2 separate regions of the Homo sapiens genome follow, and region 2 is linked to region 1. Evidence: promoter capture Hi-C in human tissues and cell types (Jung and others, 2019). All regions are on one chromosome and are shown on one strand. The core of a region is centred on a gene start or on the middle of the fragment in contact, and the rest is flanking DNA. Distances in the headings are between cores, read along the strand shown. Region 1 holds the start of EPHA3 (EPH receptor A3). Region 2 overlaps EPHA3 (EPH receptor A3).

Region 1 (4,804 bases), core at 1,584-4,083:
GTTTTTCACTTTTCTTTAAAATGCCCCTTTTCAGTTTCCTCTCAATTGCCATCTCCCCCAGGGAACTGTTAATTCCTAACTTGAGTTATGTACTAAATCCAGTTTTCCTTGGGGGAGTATTGTTTGTTTAACCTAAAATGGTCTTCTCATTTTCCCTTTTATCTTTCTTCTTTCTGAGAGATCCTAGTTCAGTTCCTTATCACTTCAGTCTTACTTGAAAAATAGCCTGAAGTCTAACTGGCCTACCTCTAATATTCCCTCCTTCACATTGGGCAGTGGTTCTCCAGGGACCCCAAGGATTACCTGAGAAGCTTTTGTGAAATTGCAGATTCCTGGGTTCCAACCTCGGAGGTTTAGGTCCAGTAAGTCTGTGGTGGGAAGAAGGCATCACTTCTTAATAAGCATTGCACCCAGGTGGAGACATCCTGTTTTATGCTATTAGTAAACTTTTGTCCCCAGACTGAGACATGATCAATTTACTACTTGCTGAAATGCTTTTGATGTCTCTCTTTAGTTTAAAATATATTGTAAAATCATTGACATGTGGCATCGAAATCTCTGTAGTTTTCAACCAGTCCTTTGAAGAATATTTCCCTACATTTTGTCTCCAATCCATACCTCCTCCTATTCCGGCCCTTTACCTACCACAAATACTCTAATATACTCTGTATTCCATATGTGCCAAATGCTTTCATTTTTGGCTCACTTGGACACTCTCTGGACTTGCCTGCCTGCAGTTCCTTCTGAATCATTTTCTTACTAGTGAACTCCTACCCATCCTTCAAGCTGCAACTCAACTACCACTTTCTTAATAAGGGCTTCCCTGCATCTGCTGCCCCCACCTCATCCTTTCCACTCCTGCTATGGTTGCTCTTCTCTGCTTATTGGCATCACTCCCTTTTCCCCATCTGTCCAGAATGGCGCCTACATAATGGAAACCTTTTACTTTTCACTAGAGAGTTGACAATTTAGAGATTCTATATCATTTACATTCTATTTTCAGGCCAGGTATTGCTTTGTACTCATTTTGCCACTCCTGTAGCTTTCTGCAAACATGAATGCCTTTTTTCCCAGTGACAAGCAGTTTTTAAGTTTTCAAGTGTGAAAAGAGAAATAGCATGAGGGGCGCCAATGGATCTGCGTGTCAGCACATTGGCAGATTCTCCAAAATGTTTTCAAATTGTCAATTCCAAATAAGATTTTAGTTTCTTTCAAGTTTCAGAAAACGTGTATCTAACTTTGGAACAATGTAAGTGTTGTGCTGGAACTTTGAAAAAACACCAGAGTCACCACTGTCTAAGTTCTCTGGGCAGTATCTGCTATTATTTTCAATTCTGACAGACTTGGCACTTGAGGATTGCGCAGCCTCTGGTGACACAATGTGGAAAGAAGTTAGAGACACAAAGTAACATGGCATACACAGAAAAGTGAGAAGGATCTCTCTTTTCCCCTGGCTGCTTCTATCCACCCCAATTCCCCACCCCAGTCATCAAACTATTATCTGGCACCATTAACTTAAATTCAAGTGAAAATTGTGTTCTCTAACTAAAAACATTGAGTTTGTGGACTGAATACATTATTAGCAAGGGCTTTTCAAACTTTCATTTAAGTTTCATTATCAAGAGCTCTAAAATTGATCACTGATCTTAAGATTATCAACATACCTTTATTTTCTGAAGTTGTGAGAGGAATATAATAATCTTGTTTTCTTTTTAGTATAAGAAGAGATAGATGGGCGGAAGGATATCTGAGTAACCATTTTCTGGGAGATATTTTAAAGATAAGTGATGCTGGTTATTAAAATATAAATTACAAAATTGTTTGGCTGAACTAGATTGCAATAGGTTGTTCAGCAATGGGATTGGAAATAACAGAGACCATTGATAGTCATGGTGTAAAATAAGTGAGAAAGTACGAGGACATTATTATTTAGCTTTTGGATTTGGAATGTTAAAGAATAAGAATACCCCAATATTATTAGACTATCAGTGGTTGAAAGTTGAATGGAGGAGCTGTGAATTATGCATTGTTTCTCTTGCAGAACCCAGAGATCCTAATGTGAGATGGTGAGGGAGGGGGATATGTATTATTAAGAAATTTAGGTTTGATCTGTATTACTTTTACAACACAGAACGAGAAAAGAATGTAGACCTCCGGCTGGGGTTAGACTTGCTCCCTTCCGTAAGATGATGAAGGTCAACTTCCCTGTTTGAAAAAAAACAAAGTATGCTCTATGTGCGCGGAAAATCACTGTGCCAGATCTAGTAAAAAGCCACGATACCATTGGGTGTGGAAATGCAGAGACCCTCTGATTCAGGCTGTGTATTAGTGTCTTTCTGAATCACAAAGAACTCATGGAGAGTTATGATCACATTGAACACAGTAAAGGAATAACTATAATCATTTTTTTCAATTATACAAACATGATTGACTTTTTAACGAAAGACTGCTATTCTTTCAAAACACACGTTTCTCTCGCATTTCAGTTCCTTTTGCACTCACATTGCCATATGATACTCCTATCAAGGCTGTGATTTCTTCGGTGAATTAAGCAACAGAGCATGGATAGCAAACAATAAAACAGCTACTTTTCATGCAACACAAAAGAGGGAGCATTTTTCTCAGCACCGCGGCCTCATCACATCTTCTGTGTTTCCTGTCCCATGGGCGACGCCCCCACTCCCACCCGGTCTCCTTCCCGAGCAGCTCTGGGCTGCAGAGCCAGCTGCGTGCCATCCCGCTCTGCTTCAGCGCACGCTGAAGACGGCACTAGGACCCAGGGAAGTCCCCGAGCGGGGTTCGCGGAAAGGCAGCCAGACTCCTCCTTATCTCCAGTGTCAAACTTGACATCAGCCTGCGAGCGGAGCATGGTAACTTCTCCAGCAATCAGAGCGCTCCCCCTCACATCAGTGGCATGCTTCATGGAGATATGCTCCTCTCACTGCCCTCTGCACCAGCAACATGGATTGTCAGCTCTCCATCCTCCTCCTTCTCAGCTGCTCTGTTCTCGACAGCTTCGGGGAACTGATTCCGCAGCCTTCCAATGAAGGTAAGCCAGGTACCGCGACGCACGGAGCTCTGCCCCGCGGGGCTCACGCTCTTCAAAGCACGTTCTCACCGAAGCCTTGCACGTCGGGAAGGTGCCTCCGAATAGAGCAGTTTGCTCTGAGAGTGAAGGAAAGATGTGCCTTTTTTTTTTCCAACTGTCTTCTAAAACACTTCAGGAGATAATTTTAGATGGTCTAAACTTTGAAAATGTGTTTTTAATCTGACACCATTTCGAGCAATTACCTTGTTTGCCAATTTGAGCAGAAAGAAAGAAAGAAAATCCTCCAGCGTTGCAACCCAGTTATGTTAATTGCCAAATAGCCAAGGCAGTATTTTATTTTCTAATTATGACCATGTGGTACTCCGAGAAGTTTGAAAGAAAATTCAGCCTTCCTCTCTAGACTCTTTAGTATGTTTAAAGGTAATGACAGGTTGTTCCTACTTGGGATCATGGCATTTATGAATGGACTAAAGGGAAATCAGAGTTTGTCGAAGCGGAGGTGCGTGTTTATGGTGCAAGGGCTGTGTTGAAGTTGTGTGTATCCCGCCAGGCAATGGTTTGCTCTATGGTACAGGTTCTAAAGAGCAGCATATGCCACATTAACGTAAGTAATATTTGCAAGAATTACAATAAGCTTAGGTTGGATTCTCTTTGTTTAAAGGCTTATATACAAATAGGAGAATGTATTTAATGAATAGTGGATAGCTCCTGGGAAGATATAGTAAATAACTGAATAGTAGATTAAGAGAGAATGTTCATATGCAGCAAATGGCATTTCCTTGATGTTGTGTTATTTATTATCCTTGTAATGAGCATTAATTCCTTTTCAGTGGGTTAAAGTGCAAACCTAATGTTAAGGACACCAATGTGTTCTATAAGATTGTGTACTTAATACATACATTTTCTTTCTCCTGTATTCCTTTTGTGATCTATTCTTGTGAATACAGTCACTAACTCGTAAAACAAACTTCTCTAAATAATTGATTAGTGTAAAGCCACACTTACAACATTAATTTCCTCTTAGTGATTTTGAACTTATAACAGTAACATTTAGCAATTTATTTTGCAAGTTAACAATACCGAGCAACTGATGTGCAAACATCATGTTATATACATCACTCCTTAGAAAATATATTGTCAAGCCAATACTGTTGTATATGTACCTTAATTTTAAAAACACGAGTAAAAACAAAATACTTAGAAAGTTTTTTATTAAATGTAATAACTGCCTGATACTCGGTGACCTACTTTCACTGCTAATAGAGCAGTAATTTATCTCCTTCCTTACTGACTGCCTTTATCAATTTGGCAGTTTTCATTAAATGTTCTGAATCTTTTTTCTAAATAAGAAAATGAAAATTCTAAAATATAAGGATCAAGAAAATTATCTTACCCACAAATGACTTTTTATTTTACAAACCAAATTAAAATGTTTATTTGAAAGTAAGAGTCAATCATTCTTCCTGAATGAAAGGTAAGAGTATTCATTTGTATAACGGGTAACATGTATAATAGGTAACATATCAATAAATTAAACTTAATGTTTTAAAAATTTTTGTTCTTTGCAGATATTAAAATATTGACAATAACTAGAAAAATAGTATTAAAATTCCCACATTGTCATGATAAATTATATTTTCCAGATAGAATGGTTATGAACTATGTAGATATGGATATTACTGAATTAATTATGCACAAGAATGTAGCTGTTAGTCAGTATTTTTGTGGAAAACAACCTTTAAGTAAACTGCAAGA
Region 2 (4,804 bases), core at 650-3,149, 60 kb after region 1:
CATATATTATCTGTATATAAAACATTCTTGAAAGAAATTATACTTTTCGTAATAATTATTTTTAATAAATGCAATGCAATGCAAATATATTTCAAATTGGTTCAATCATTCCATCCCCAATGCTATCACCATAGAACAGACCATCTCTTAACTGTTCTAATGCATGGATTAAAAACTTCTGTGCTCTTCTGTGCCTTTCCTCTTTCCATCTCCATATTGTAGTCAAAATGATCCATTCAAAAATGCAAGTCTTATGTTAATTCTCTGCTTAATTTTTAATGTTATTACCTTCAAAAAAATGTGTTACTTTTGTATTCTCCTTTTGAATCCTTGATCCAAATATCTTGCATCTTTACATACTCATCTTCTGAAATAAAAGAAGACATCAGCTTTTGTGCAACAAAATCCTGACTCCTTTCCAAGGCTGTTCAGGCCTTGAATGATAAAGGCCCCTGCCGTTCTGGAACTTGGTCATGCTGTGGCTACACTGGCCAACAATCAGCTCCTCAGAAACACCAAATACCCATTCAGGGCTTTTGTTCCTGTGTTTTCATTTTCCCAGAACACTTTTCCCTGGCTCTTCAAGCGCCGTTCACCCTATGGTTTGTTTTAGATGCTATCATCATCTTTGTTTTACAGATGATGAAACTAAAGCCAGAGAGGTTAAGTAATTTGCTCAAATGCTCATTAATAGCAAATGAGTGGCAGGATTAAAACCCCGGTGATCTAACTCCAGATTCCCGGCTCTTCACTGCATGAGATCTCTGTCTTAGCACCCTTCAGGTCTGGTTCTCAGCCTAAACGTCCGGGTAGTTTTCCCTGTTCCACCGTCTAAAGTAGGTTTAAGAACCACCTTCATCTTCTCATTCTTCGTTTATCTTCTTCTTCATATAATTTATCAAAATTTGTAATTATTTATTATGGTAGTTGTTCAGCTTTTTAAATTGTACACTAAATTATGAGGTTTCTGTGGGCAAGACCAAAATATGCCCAGCACATATACTATCTTTTGAACAGAAGCACTCACTCTACACATTTTTGCTTGAAATAACTAAAACACATGGAGAGGAAGGGTAGTTATTGGATGCCTGTAACTTTTGAAAATGATATAAAGTCTTTAAATTATAATAATTGTTTTTTTCTGATTTTTTACTCTGATAACCATGTTACAAGATTCTATTTCATTCAAACGTATAAAAACAACACCAACCATAAAAACAGTTCTTTGAAACAATGAAGACAAATCAATTATCTTCTATCCTTAGCATTTCTCCCTTTCTCTCCCAAATTCACCTGCTTCCTCTGATTTGCTCTCCTTTTTTCTTTTGCTTCTTGGAATTATTTGCATATAATTAGTTTCCAACACAGTGACATATCAGAAATGTCGTACTCTCAGAATATTTTAGAATGAGGTCTAGGGAGAACCTAAACAAAATGCACCCTTTTATTAAATTGACCTGACAATATTAAGGGGGTGCTTTTGAATGGATAATTCTTTGAAAGCATCAGTTAACAAACAGCACAAAAACACAAGCACAGCAACCCAGCAAGTATGATGTATTATTTAAGAAGGGGTTGAGTGGGGTCTTTATCTGACAAGTCACAGGCAGAAAACACATTCCTGCAAATTGCCCCATTTCTCCTCAAAATGTGTCTGAGGTGAAATGGAGCATCCTTTGTTTCGTACAAAGAAAATAACTCAGGAAAATGACAGTTTAGTGATACATATCCTCATGGTCTAAAAGTCAATGACCTGGAAAAAAAATGATGAAAACTAATTTGTTTTAATGGACAGATAGTATTGTATATTTTTATCATGTACAACATAATGTTTTGAAGCATATATACATTGTGAAACAGTTAACTAGCTAATAGATGCATTACATCACAGAGTTTTTATTTTGTGATAAAAGTACATAACATTCACTCTGTTTACATTTTTTCAAATATAAAATACATATACTTGGAAATTCAAAGGACATATAATTTAAAATATCACATTTATATTCTCTTTAATATTTTCTATTCTTTCAATAAGAAGATAAAGCATAACTACAAGATTTAGCATGGGTAGGGGTAGGGGGAGAAATGAGAAAATGAAGTAGGGAGAAAAGCTATTTCTCTCCCCTATGTGGGGAGAAATAACATTACAAAAAAGAAATAGAAGCTAAAATGCATCATCTTCAATTGTGTGTTATACTAACTCCATAGTTTGAAGTTTGTGCTTATTAGAAATCCTGACATCTGTGAATTTAAGGTAGTTGTCTCTGTTTTTGTCTTAAATGAAAGTCAAAGTTGAATACACTGAACTTTCTGAGGAGCAGCAGAATTTCAAGGGTTCCTTCCTTTAGAAATTATAGGGAGTATCTGAGGACTAACTTGATACTGGAGAAATATTTGCACATTGCTAAAACCTGTTATTCTCTTTTCAACTGGAGCAAGATAGAATTCCCACAGCTAGGTCATTACTATACTTTGACTCCTAAACTCTCATGTTTATACTGTGTCTACATATTTGAGAATTGCAAAAGGTGGGAACAACACTTTCTTCACTGATTTCTATTATTTATTATATACACATATATACACACACACAAATATACATACATATATGTACATATATTTTTAAACAAAATTATGATTAGCATTTTATTTGAAGAGTGCAAAGTACCTAAAAGTCACTAAGACAAAGGTTTGAAGTTGACACTGGATAAAAAGACAACCTTGAAATAATTTTAAAGTTTGCAATTAACACAGATCACAGTGTGGCAAGTAAAAGTTTTAATAGCAGACTGGCCCAGGCCTTGAGGTAAATTATGCATAATTATTCATAACTGCTATTTTTGGCTTGCCTGATTTGTCCTAGACCTCTGGCTGAGGAAACAATTTGAAATAATTAGTGTACTAGTGCATTGACAATGATGAATGAATTGAATACTTCTTGTGCCAAACATAGATCTTGATAGGAAGCAGATAACTTTGACAACTGTGGTATTTTGTTATTAGATCTCTGAAAGTGGAAAGTTTATGTTATTTTTTGTGATTTTTTATAGGGTGTTTCATAAGTCATTCTCTAATGTCCTCAATCATTAATGAGGCTGTGATTAAAAACAAACCAAAAAAAATTTAAAAACAGCATTGATGTTTATTTATACCAAATTTTTACATGTTTAATGTTAAGAGTTTAAACTATGATATTCTAAAAATAACTTCATGGTAATTAAGAGACTTCCTTTCAATTTTAATTTCATGACTAAATTAGAGTTTAGTATATTATATCAAAACTATATTTAAGAAAAATAATACAGATAATTAAACACAATGCTTCTTGAAATAGAGAAGCTTTAAATTTTTCATATGATAATTAGTAATTTTTTCTAAATATTACAAAATGCATATTTGCCTACCTGTTGAGTTCCTATTGCTAGGAAACAAAACCTTCCCTTTACATATGTTAGTATAGAAAATAATTTTCAATGATTAAAATATGCAAATGTATTGAAATTTAAAAATTTAGAAATTCTGGTACACCATCAAAAAATAAAACTAGCAGAAAATTATAGAAAAGTCTCAGAGAGATGTTTTTCCAATTCATTGTACATAAATTATATAAAGCTCCTCTTTTAATTAAGCAAATACTCAGAACACAATATATTCGCATTTTTCAGTAGAATAAACACTAACAATTGTCTGTCTGGAGACAACTGTTCCTTGGCTGGAGGTTTGGACAGACAGGCAATCTTTGTTTTGGTATAAAAGCATCAGCCCATTTAGGTCACCTGAGTGAAAAGAATTAGACTTATTTTTTCTGAAACCATAAAATAATTTAAAAGTATAAAAAGATGAATTCACAGACAACCTTTGGCATCTATAATAATTTTATCACTGCTAATTATACATGTTTTTTTTTCTAATTTTAAAAGGTTAGTTAGGGCATCCACATTTGCAGTAAAATTTTTTTATAGATATTGTACATATTTTTCAGACCGAAATTATAAACATTTATATTACACAGGCACATAGTAGTTGGGTCTTAGCTGTGCTTCTGAAATACAGCATCTAATCAATGTTCTCATTCTCTGTTACTTATAACCATGACAAAATTATTTAAATGATTCTTGCTTTTCATGTATAGAATAAACTGCAATCTTAAATAAACTGCTAATAAAATATATCAACTTGTTTGATAACTGTTATATATAAACTATTATTTTATGTAACTCTTACCCATAATGAAGAGATAAAAAATCACACAGGTGACCATACAGTGTTTTTGTGTATATTTTCAGATATCATATATTTCAAAATTGTGCCTATGACCTTGAAAAAGCTGTTTTTTTGTGGGATCATATGGCTACATAAAGAGACACTTCTCTTAAGTTCTCTTGCATTTATTAGGTTTAAAGTTCAAATATATCATTTCTTCAGTTTTACTGGGATGTATGTAAATTCTACTTCATAACCTTAATTTTGTTTTTTTGTTCATATTTTCTGATAGTAGAAATTGCAGCATTCAATCTACTTTACCTGAAGCCTTTGTTAATTAGATACAGTTACTGGTTTTGACAGAGCCAGATGAACGGCTCTGAAAGTCAACAAACTCTAATATTGAGATTATAGCCTCGGCGGGGCGCGGTGACTCACGCCTGTAATCCCAGCACTTTGGGAGGCCGAGGCGGGTAGATCACGAGGTCAGGGGATCGAGACCATCCTGGCTAACACGTTGAAATCCCGTCTCTACTAAAACTATAAAAAAAAATTAGCCGGGCGTGGTGGTGGGCGCCTGTGGTCCCAGCTGCTCTGC

The links. The method cuts DNA at HindIII sites, captures the fragments that hold promoters and counts their contacts. A contact is called where the count stands out against the background at its distance.
Region 2: a contact is called between a fragment that was not itself captured here and the fragment with the promoter of EPHA3 in region 1, in 3 of the 25 tissues and cell types used here (dorsolateral prefrontal cortex, hippocampus and mesenchymal stem cells).

What each region holds. Positions count from the first base shown.
Region 1 is chr3:89,104,788-89,109,591 of GRCh38, forward strand. It overlaps EPHA3 (EPH receptor A3), which reads left to right and starts at 2,834. Exons shown (of 17, transcript NM_005233.6): 1 at 2,834-3,049. The coding sequence starts at 2,962. RefSeq lists an enhancer at 2,676-2,815. The HindIII fragment of the contact is 4,313 bases long and covers 87-4,399 here.
Region 2 is chr3:89,165,343-89,170,146 of GRCh38, forward strand. All of the region lies in intron 2 of EPHA3 (EPH receptor A3), which reads left to right. Among named protein-coding and RNA genes, the nearest start is that of EPHA3, 60 kb to the left of the region's middle. RefSeq lists an enhancer at 63-923. The HindIII fragment of the contact is 6,689 bases long and covers 1-4,804 here.